Linked DNA regions of Homo sapiens: region 1 is linked to region 2. The links are contacts of gene promoters, found by promoter capture Hi-C in blood cells and fetal thymus (Javierre and others, 2016). All regions are on one chromosome and are shown on one strand. The core of a region is centred on a gene start or on the middle of the fragment in contact, and the rest is flanking DNA. Distances in the headings are between cores, read along the strand shown.

Region 1 (5,219 bases), core at 2,003-4,502, 190 kb after region 2:
GGGACATACTCATACTAAATCCTTCAGTGTTTAATCAGAAATTCCAGTTTAATTGGGATATTATATCTTATCTGGCAACCCTAGTAGGAATTTATATCTCAGACTCTGCTTCTAGGGAATCCAACCCACAACAATGTCTCATTCAGATTAAATATATGAAAGGAACTACTTGTGGGAAATTGGATGGATTGTATAGAAGGATTTTTATTGGAAATAGCTATGGAGTTCCAACCACCTTTCCCCAAAGTGGAAGAGTGTGCTGTGCTATCTTCTGATCCTGAGCTAGAGAGAGGGGCTGTCACTGGATCACTCAAAGTGCTTCATATCTATCCTAGCAGCTGGGGCCACGGTGGAACAATTTACCTGGGAGTTCTAACACAGCTTGAGGCAAGAGGGTTTAGGGTACAGTGGGGAAAAATTGCATTCTCCCTGATGGCAGTTAAGGAGTGTGAATTTCAGAGACTAGATGAGGAATTCATGGGAGGAATGGGACCTGGAGTCATTTTTAAAGCGATTATTTCCTAGAGGATGACCTGTTAGGGAAGGGGACCCCAATAGTTTACAAACCTGACTGAGGGGGTTTCAGGAGTAGTCAGTCAAAGGAAAAGTACAGCCTAGGGCAAGGGTTAAAAATTTTTTCTGTAAAGGCTCAGAGAATAAATATTTTAATCTCTGTAGGCCACAGAGTCTCTGTTGCAATTATTCAGCTCAGTCATCGTCACACAAAAGCAAGCATAGACAGTATGTCAGAGGATGGGCATGGCTATGTTCCAATGAAACTTTATTTATAAAAACAGGCACTAGGTGGGATTTGGTCGGCCTGCAATAGTATGCCAAATCCTGACCCTGGACCAAGTAGAGTCAATTAGAGGGGATCAGCAGGGGAAACTACAAAGAAGCTGTGAATTTGCCTAGGAGCAAGTTTTCTTTAAATGTCTAACCATTTTATGTTCATATCAGTCAAGCAAAATTATTTCTGCTCACCTTTCATTTCTTTTCTCCCCAGACTCCAGCTTTGGAAGAGTCAGACACTGAGATTAGTAAAGCAAGGAAGAGTGAGCAAAGAAGACTAAGTTAAATTTGGAGTTTTGTTAAAGGGATTAGATAATTCTAACTATTTTAAATTATTTTTAAAATTATTAAATTATTAAAATTATTTTTAATTATTTTTAAAATTATTAAATTATTAAAATTACTTAATAATTTTTAATTATTTTAATTATTGAAATGAGGTTGTAATATAAGGTAACTGCAGAATTTTCTATTAATTGTGTGACCAGAAAAGGCACAATATTCAGTCAGTTTTTATCTAGTCACTGGGAAAGAATGTCCTCCCCAGAATAAATTTTAAAGGGACAGCAAGAGACAAAAATAAAAATGAGGCTGGTCACAGTGGCTCACACCTGTAATCCTAGCACTTTAGGAGGCTGAGGTGGGCAGATCACCTGAGGTCAGGAGTTCCGAGACCAGCCTGGCCAACATGGTGAAACCCTGTCTCTACTAAAAATACAAAAATTAGCCGGGCATGGTGGCAGGTGCCTGTACTCTCAGCTATTCGGGAGGCTGAGGCAGAAGAATCGCTCAAAACTGGGAGGTAGAGGTTGTAGTGAGCCAAGAGCGCACCACTACACTCCAGGCTGGGTGACAGTAGAGAAACCCTGTCTCAAATAAATAAATACATAAATAAAAATAAAATAAAGGTGCTTTCTTATTACATTTAATTTGTCCTGCTTGTCTGAGGTACTTCTTACATTTATATTTGTAGGTCCTTGCCCAGAATTGAACCTAAAAATATTCCCAATATTGAGAAGTTTCCAAAGCAGGCACACAAAGTGGTTCTTGAGGGAAAAGGTTGGTTTTGAATTCCAGTGAGGCCTGGAGAACACAAAGCTATGCGAATCGCAGGTGAGTCAAAGCATTCCTGTCCCCTTAAGTCTTCACCCTCCTCTCTGTTCCCATGAGGAGTTGGACAGGGGAGGACGCCAGGAGCAAGAACGAGTGTGAGGGGCACTTGGAGAGTGAGAAGAGGGGAAGAGGCTGACCACACTCATTTCCCTGAAGGCAGTAGTGGGCTGGTGGGTGGGGTTAGAAACCTCATCTTTGTTCAAATGTGACTTGATAGTCCACACTTTAATCTCTCAATTAAAACTGTTTGTGACTTACGATGACTATAGGACTTTCCAGTATGTAAGAATTAACAGAAAAGTCATGTGACTGCCTTACTTTGCATCCAGAGGCGGAAAAAGGCTATTCTCCTGGAACAAGACTGAGAGACGAAAGCAAAGTTGTCTCTCTCTTCACAACCCATGAGCCCCACATGTTTAATACACTGGGTAAACAGATAAATGTGAAATGGGGCCGGGCTCTGGGAGCCCTGTGTCAGGGGCCTTCCCTCACTCTGCAGTGCCCTGCTCCCCAAGACCTCCCTAGGAAACCCAGGGTGTCAGGAGGCACAGTTTGCCAATCACTGCGGCATATCTAGCTCTCCCTTAATTCGGAGGCCTGCAGAAAACAGCTTAAAACTGACTAAAAGTGTGATGATACCAATGAATTACTTCTCGGTGTTTTCCTTAGGATGTGCCACAAACTGACATCAGAGTGCATTCCAAAATAATAGCATAGTTCAGGGTCAGAAAACTTTTCCTTCAAAAGACAAGATAATAAATATTTTAGGCTATTCAGGCCATATATTATCTGTGGCAACTACTCAACTCTGCTGTGGTTCTTGAAAGTAGCTGTATATAATGCATAAACATATGAGTGTGATGATATTCCAGTAAAACTTTATTTACAAAAACAGGGATCGTGGACTATAGTTTGCTAACCCTTGCTGTATTGTCTCGAAGCATCCATGTCTTGTTTTTCCAATAAGAGGCCCCATTTTCCTCCAGAATGACCCCTATACCACCAGCTCTACTACCCAGTCTGTGTGGTTCAGGGACAGAGGCTCGCAAATGTCACAAATGTCAAAGCCCTCTCCTCTAAATCCAGGGGAGGACATGTCATTCAGAGCTGGACAAACATGGTATGCCTCCTTGTGTCAACTACTATTGACTTAGGGTGAGTACCTGAGCCAAGGCAATCAAAGTCAAATTAGATTAAGTGAAGGGACTTTTGCTTTAATAGCTTTGGATTTTAGGCTGGAAAGAGGTAAGCTTGAAATATTGGGATGAACAGGGAAAAGGAATCTGCCTGTCTTTGGTGGGATTCCCTAATACAAAGATTTGTTTCCAGGGAAATCTGAGGGAGATATGGGAGTCAGATTGGGAAAGCAGGGAGACCAAGCAAGGATGCAATATCAAGAAAAGCCCCATAAATGGCAGCTTTGGCTAAGTTCTGAGGGAGGTGGGAAAGCTTTGGGGCCAATCTCAACTGTGAAGTTGTTCTCATCAGGGAACTCTGCCCCTGCCAGTCATTGGTTAAGGTCTACCCCTGGAGAACTTAAATTCCTAGGCTATTCTAGCATTCAGGGCAGTACTTGCCAATATTGGCTTTAGAGCATGAAGGCAAAGCACAGGTGCTATCTCTCAGAAGAGAAAGCATTGCTAGGTTAAGGTGTATGAGGATGATGTGTAGAAAACGGACAGCTTCTGCTACACTGCTAGAGAGAGAAGTGAATTTTAAAAAAGTAAAAATAAGAGATGGGGAGAACCTGAGGGCTTATGACAATTTTTGACCTCTGTGTCCAGCTATTCCAGAAACACTAATTTACCCCTGGATTTTAAAGTGACTTGCGAGGAATAGGGGGAGAGGAGGAATCCCTGTAAGTTTTCTATTACTTGCAAGCGAAAGTGTCTTAATGGAGAGAGACACACGATTGATCAGACTTTGCCATAACACAGAGTAGGAAGAAAATAAATCTTAAAAGGTGGCATATTGGCCTGTGGACCTCAAGTCTTGGAAGTAACTTCTCTCAGTGGAGCTTTCGTGTCTCTATTTCTATTCTTAATAACAGCCCAATTGTGGAACTGCAGGGGTAGAAGTCTTTCACACCCTTATAAAAATCCAACTTCTGAGAATGAGGGAGGGCCTGAAAAGTCTGACCCCCATTGGGGACAAACCCCAGGTGTACTCAAGGCCTTAATAAATAATGGAGCACAAGTAGAAGAAAAGGCAAGAAATGTGGGAAATGTGATATCGCAGTTCCAAGGCCCAGTGGACCAACTTGGCAGTCTTGGATAGAAACAGATTAAGTGTGAGAAATCACTCATCCCTAATATATAGTTGTTTCATGGACTTTGCCATTGTGAGAAGCATTCAGCTTCAGTAAGTCACAGACAACAAAATGTGCATTTTTTCACTTCAGAGGATTTAGCCAGTTGATTAACTACAAAAAGAAGGAGCTTCGTGGGTAAAAGACTGAGCTTTCACTTTAGGGAATTCTGGTTGAGCCCTCCAAGAAACGGAGTTCACGTCTCAGCTCTGGGACTCTCAAGGATAATAGCTCACATCAGAAAACCACAGTAAAGGATTTGGCAAGCGGGGACCAGGGCAGGCAGTTGGATGGGCAAGGAATTATGGGAAGTCTCTCCTCCCATCCTCCCAGTTAGGGAAATTCTTAAAGAGATGGCAGAATAAGTGGAAAATATTATAAATCTAGCACTAAGTCTGATTTGAAATTGCCTCATATTTTTAGAAAAACAAAGAATGTGTGGTGCTTACAAAGAAAGATGATGGTCATAAAAATATTCTTCCTCCCTATCTCTGTATGTTTGTTCTTTTTCTTACTTTTAAGGGAAACTACTTACCAATGGGATAGGAAATCAGAAAAGCACAGAGGCTCACAAATGTCCATGTATTCAGGACTGACCTTACCAATAGGCAGATTAGATTAGGTGTAACCAAAAGAAATCACTAACATTTGACAACTTTTGACCTACAAAAATGACAGTTTCATATGACACAGCCTAATAATTTTGATATTGGGAAAAGAGATTCACTAAAACAATTTGATATTAAATAATTCAAAAAAGTATTGCAGCAGCCTTCATAGGAAAAACCAGAATGTTGAATGTTTTTGTGTTTTCTGTTATTTACTTTATAGTTCAGTATTGCCTTTAATTTGAGTTACATGTTGAAGGTGAGGTAGAAGCAGAATAAATTTTTCAGAACTTGGGTATATAAAGATCCCATCTGATCCCTGGTTACATTCATCATATGAATCTCTGCAGGTCTTTCTCTTGTAAATGTTATTATTCCAAACACCTAATAAAGGACCC
Region 2 (5,292 bases), core at 1,262-3,761:
GGATATTTATGGGTGAACTAAACTTTGGCTGGGCTTTCTCAAGTGAACATTAGAATCCCAGGAGCCCTTCCCACCTGGAGAGCTTATGACTACTGATTTGTTAAACGTAGGGATTGGGGGGTGGGGTGATGTCTTAGTTAAAGGTTCTAAATATCTACATATTGGCAGACAAGAAATCTGACTTAGCAAACTCTCCTCTCCGTCAAACAAGCAACTCAAAGACACTCATACTAACACCTCTAGGCCTCAGAATGGAAGGGGAAAAAAAAAGTGCTACATTTAAATGTGAGTTGTGTGAGTCGAGGGTTACGATTTCTTCCCGCCCGTTCCTCCCCGGCCCGAGCCTCTTCTCTGCTCACCCTGCATGTTATTGTCGGCTTTGCCACAGGTCACCCATTTGCCCCCCTGGAAGCGCCAGTGGTTGGGGTCCGCCAGCACCACCTCTACGAACACATTGTAGTGGGCAGTGGGATTGAGTCCGTTTATGTTGAAGCTCAAGAAAGGAAACATGCGCCTGTGCAAGGGAATAGAATCAGAAAAATCGATTTTAATTGGGATGTCCTAGAACAGGCCCAGGCCCCAGCGGGTTCCCCAGACACCTGGGATAGGGTCGGAACACATTTAAAAGTTTGCAGTGAACAGAATGCTGGTAGATCAAGTGGTCTGAAACTATGTAAAATATTTTTGAGTTGGCAACTCTTGGAACCTTTCCGTCTTTTCAAAAAAAAAAAAAAAAAAAAAAAAAAAAAAAAAAAAAAAAGCTTGCCCCAACATCGGTATATTCCAAATTCGCGCGTGCTTCCGAAGGCTCATATTCTCGGCCCTTTCAGACGCTCTTAAAATTTTTCTCCTAGAATGTTAAAAACTACTAATTTTTAAATGCACCATTTTGAAAAGTACCAGAGAACAATATTAGGTTATTCTTGTTAAAAATATATATTAAAACTTTAGGCTAAAAGTCCCCTTTGAGTGCCCCTCTCTCAGCACCCACCCCTCCCTTTCCCCAGAAGTAGCCAGTGTTAGCAGTTGGATGTATATCAGAACTTTCTCGCGCACCGAACCCGAGCCAGGTCTGGCTCCAGGGCAGATCTAACCACCTACTCCGACCGAGCTTCCGAGGCCGGCGCTCTAGCCTTCATGCCCACCTCCCGGAGACGCCCCGTGGAGACCCTGGCGCCTAAAACTGCGGGAGCCCATCTACTGCGCTCAGGTGGCCAGCTCTTGAGCCTTCCCTATCCGTGGCTCCTTGCCGGCATGCAGGCATGCACAAGCATACCGCCGAGCAGGAGGATCTAACGAATCCAGCTTGTGGACATGCCCTAATTTCCATTTCCGCCTCCTCCAGGTCTGTTCAGGTGAGGATGATGGGAGGGAAAAGCGGTGTACAGCCGTAACATTGGCACCCTGCAAGAGCCGCCGGGGCACTGACACAGAGGGACACCGCATTGGAGATGCGGTGTCTACGGAGATTTATTGCGCGCGGTGAAACACTCTAAGCACCGCGCGGAACAACTGGGTTCAGCTCCCTCATCCCGGACCTTCCCCAGGACCACACGTCACCCTTTATCCCCGAACCCAGGGGCCCCTCCACGCTGCGCTCACCTGCCCTGTTTCGTAATGATCATCTCAGTTTGGTGGCGGTGGAATTTGAGCCACAGAGGCCGGTTGCACAGGTAGACGTGGGCACGGAAGCCAGAACCTGGAACCCCCAGGCCCCCCAGTCCTCCGCAAGATCCCGCCGCTGCGGCTCCAGGGTACGGCCCGTAGAGCGGAGCCCCCTGGCTGTACTGATAGGTGCCCGGGCCGCCGCCCCCGCCGCTGCTACCGCCCGCGCCACTGCCCGCACCGGCTCCTGGGCCGAACTGCGCCCTCCCGGGTGGGCACACAGCCGCGGGGAAGCCGCCGGGGGGCAGCATGGAGCCGTAGGGGTAGCGCGCCCCGTTAGGAGCCGGGTACACAGGTCCGTGGGGCGCCCCAGCCGCCGCCTGGTACGGGAAGAGTGAGCAGGGCGCAGCCAGCTCCGACCCCTGAGGACCGGGGGACTGGAGGTAGTACCGCTCGGAGCTCAGGCTGTCCATGGAGTAGCGCGCAGTGGCCGCAGCCGCGGCGGCGGCGGCGGCGGCGGCTGCAGCGGCGGAGGGCAGCTCCTCCTCCCCGCAGGGGGAGCCCTTGCGGCCGTCCGGGGGCCCCGGCTTGGCCACTGCCGCAGCGCTGGCAAATGCGTCCCCGGCGTCGGTGTCACTAAGCATGGCCGCGGGGGCCCCTGCGCTGGCGGCTGCGGGCTCCCCGCTCACCGCCTCGCAGGAGAGACTGCCGGAAAACTTCTTGGACGCTTTGTCTAAGTCCAACTTCTGAGGAGAGGGGGCCGCGCTGGGGAGGTGGCCAGCGCTCCCGCCGCTGCCGCCTCGCGCACTCTCCAGCGGGTAGAAGTGCGCGCCAGGCAGGTTCACTGAGCTCACCAAGAGCTGCTCCCCTAACTGCATGCTTTGCAAAGCGCAGACGGCAGCTGGCTGCTTCCTCTCCTCCGGTGGCCTTATTATAAAGGCAGGATGGGGGAGCCAGCGCCCTCTTCCGAGGGGAAGGTAACTTCCCCTTCCTCCCGCGCCGGGGCTACCCACCTGCCGACTCGCGGGCCGCTACTGCGCGTACTGGCGCGCCCTGAATCCAGCGTCCTTTCCGGAAGGAAAGCGCCGTGAGTTGGAAAGCAGGAGGTGGAAACTAACCCAGAAGCCCTCTCCTTTTCCTTCCTCGTACCTCTTGCTCCTCAGGACCCCCACCCTCCTCCCAGGCTCACACGCTGGAAGAAGGTGACTTAGATCTTTGTCCCCATCCACCCACTAGCCCGCGCCTTTCTGCCCTTTTTCAATTGCCAAAGCATCGGTCAAGTTGACCACTTGGAAACTTATGGGCTGTCACTAGCTGCTTTATATATTTGCGGCCAGGGAGGGGCTTCCCGGCCTCACAGCCCGGAGACCCTCCTATTGGCTGGTGGAGGTGACACTAATTCAATTAGGCATTTACTAATTGGATCAAGTCGCCTGTGACTTTCTTTTCCTTTTTTTTTTTTTTTTTTTTTTTTTTTTTTTGAGACTGCGTCCCGCTGTGATAATCAATCCTGGTGTCTGTAATTTCGCCGGAATTTAGGGGGACAAAGTTTGGGGTCTCCATAGCGGTGTCCACCCTTGGCGCATTAGTCATCTCAGCCCTCCGCTGGAGGAATGAGATGGCTGGAGCAGATTTTAGAGGCCAGAGAGAGAAAGACTCTTCAAGCTGATAGCTTGCAGGGAAGCGCCCGTCCCGGAGGCTGGGGAAACTGGGGCAAGTTGGAGACAGGCCCAAGGAAGTCTCTTTCCTCGTCGGAAGCTGTAACTTCAAAGCACACCTTCCTCTTGTCGAAGGCAAACTCCCTGGCCTTCAACGCACAGAACCACTTTTTGTTTGTTCCCATCCTTTTACCCAGTGGGAAAGGTTTGTAGAGAGGAAACTCGCGCTAAGCTTTTGGGATTCCGGGGACGGCCAGAGCACATTGCCATCCTGGAGGACCTAAGCTCTCAGCTTCTAAATCAGAAGCTTGGACAGGGTACTGGGGACAGGACAAGAGTGAAACTAAGCGAGCTAACACCAACTTCATACTCACGCCAACACAACTGCTTTCGGGGAGACAGTCACTTTTATTCCCCACAATTTAAAATCCTTTCTGCTCAGTTTTCCTGATCCCGGATTCCGTCCCTTCACCACCATCTTCAGTTAGGCCTGACACCAAGAAACAAAGCTTCCCTAACAGCCCCACAGTTAGGATTCCCTGCGCCTCTGCTCTGCGGCAAATACAGAAGGTAGAATAATTAGTGAAATAATCAGTTTGATATTGAATTAAACTCCAGCTGCTTGTTTCTTCGCTGCGTTTCCTCAGATAGATTCAAGAGCGGGGCCGTCATATTTTATCGTTTCATTATTACGGAAGCGGGGGGCACGTTTCGTTGCGGATAAGGAGAAGCCTGAATATTCGCTGTTAATAAGCAATTACAGACGCCGCCAGTAATCGCTCCGGGAGCGCATTTTCCGGCTGAGATGTCGGGACTCTGCTTCCCCAACCGAACGCGATCACACGGGAAACTCTTCGCCCACAACAGATGAGATGGCCAAAGGATTGCTGAGTGCGCACACGCAAGTGTAGAACAGTGCGAAGCTTTCCAACCCAGTTTTCCAACCACAGCAGCACCAACATCGGCATGTCTGGGGTCTCCGAGAACGAGGTCCTTAATGCACTTAGACTCTCCAGGGCATTTATCACGGTTTTTTTTTTCTTTTTTGATGTGTGTGTTCGCGCGCTCGCGCGCTCGCGTGTGTGTGGTGGTGAAACCCAGGAGTGCGCGAAGATTTTCAGGGTCAAGGCACAGCCACAGGGGAGGGGGCAAGTTGAGACTAGTGGGCTGGGGCGGTGGCCTTGTAGGTCCTGGGACAGAGTGGCCAGGAGCAGATCGCCAGAAAGCTGGTACTGAGCGCGTTCTGCCCTGCGCTTCCTGCGTTTTGTGTCATCAGTATAGTTAGTGTTTGGCACGGCTGTTTTGATCACTACATTGTCCATGCCTTCCTCCCCTGCTTTAGTGTTATTTTGACCCAAGGAAGTCTAGAACATTGATTGTTCAAGTAGTATAGCTCTGTGAATACCTCATGACTGTCAACGTGAAGATCCCGTGAGGGGTACGCGAGCTCAAGGAAAGAAAGAGGCCGTGCAGCTTGGGCGGCTTGGACGACGTATCTATCCCTGGGCTAGCGGGTCCTGATTACTATTCGTAGGATCCTCCACATTATCCTTTACCTGAGTTGCAAGATATCTAAGGCAAAAGTAGGGATGAGAAATCTCCCTAATGTGAGACCTAATCTCACGTTATTTGGAGCTAGGGTGGCCAAAGGTACATGACAGTTTTGCGCTTTAACAAAGCAAGAAGCGGGCCTCGGCGTCCCTTCAAAATGCTTTTGACGCAGCCAGGGAAGCGCTTCGCGTGGCAAAGTGCCATCGCAGGCAACAGGCATCGTTCCGACCCACTCTGGCGCGAATAACGCGGGCCAGCTGTCCCCCGAGCCACATCAGAAAGCGTTGATTTTATTCCAGCCCCAGAGCAAGCTTTTGAAAGCGCATGAGTTCAGTATGAGCACCACCTAATTATTAAATATACACACGATGTATATAATTAGAATTTGTATTGATTCTTGGGGACAGGAAATTTTGGTTGATATCTACCCACTTCCCCAGTAAATCTATTATTTTTCCCAAACTTCAACACATTTTAC

What was found. Contacts are between HindIII fragments. The CHiCAGO score rates a contact against its expected background, and 5 or more counts as called.
Region 1: a contact is called between a fragment that was not itself captured here and the fragment with the promoter of EOMES in region 2, in 6 of 17 cell types (total CD8 T cells, non-activated CD4 T cells, naive CD8 T cells and 3 more). The highest score is 17.4, in total CD8 T cells.

What each region holds. Positions count from the first base shown.
Region 1 is chr3:27,906,183-27,911,401 of GRCh38, forward strand. No RefSeq gene overlaps it. Among named protein-coding and RNA genes, the nearest start is that of LINC01981, 75 kb to the left of the region's middle. The HindIII fragment of the contact is 199 bases long and covers 3,154-3,352 here.
Region 2 is chr3:27,719,812-27,725,103 of GRCh38, forward strand. EOMES (eomesodermin) reads right to left here and starts at 2,512. Exons shown (of 6, transcript NM_001278182.2): 1 at 1,603-2,512; 2 at 360-514. The coding sequence starts at 2,483. RefSeq lists a silencer at 1,938-2,147 and an enhancer at 4,693-5,292. The HindIII fragment of the contact is 2,734 bases long and covers 760-3,493 here.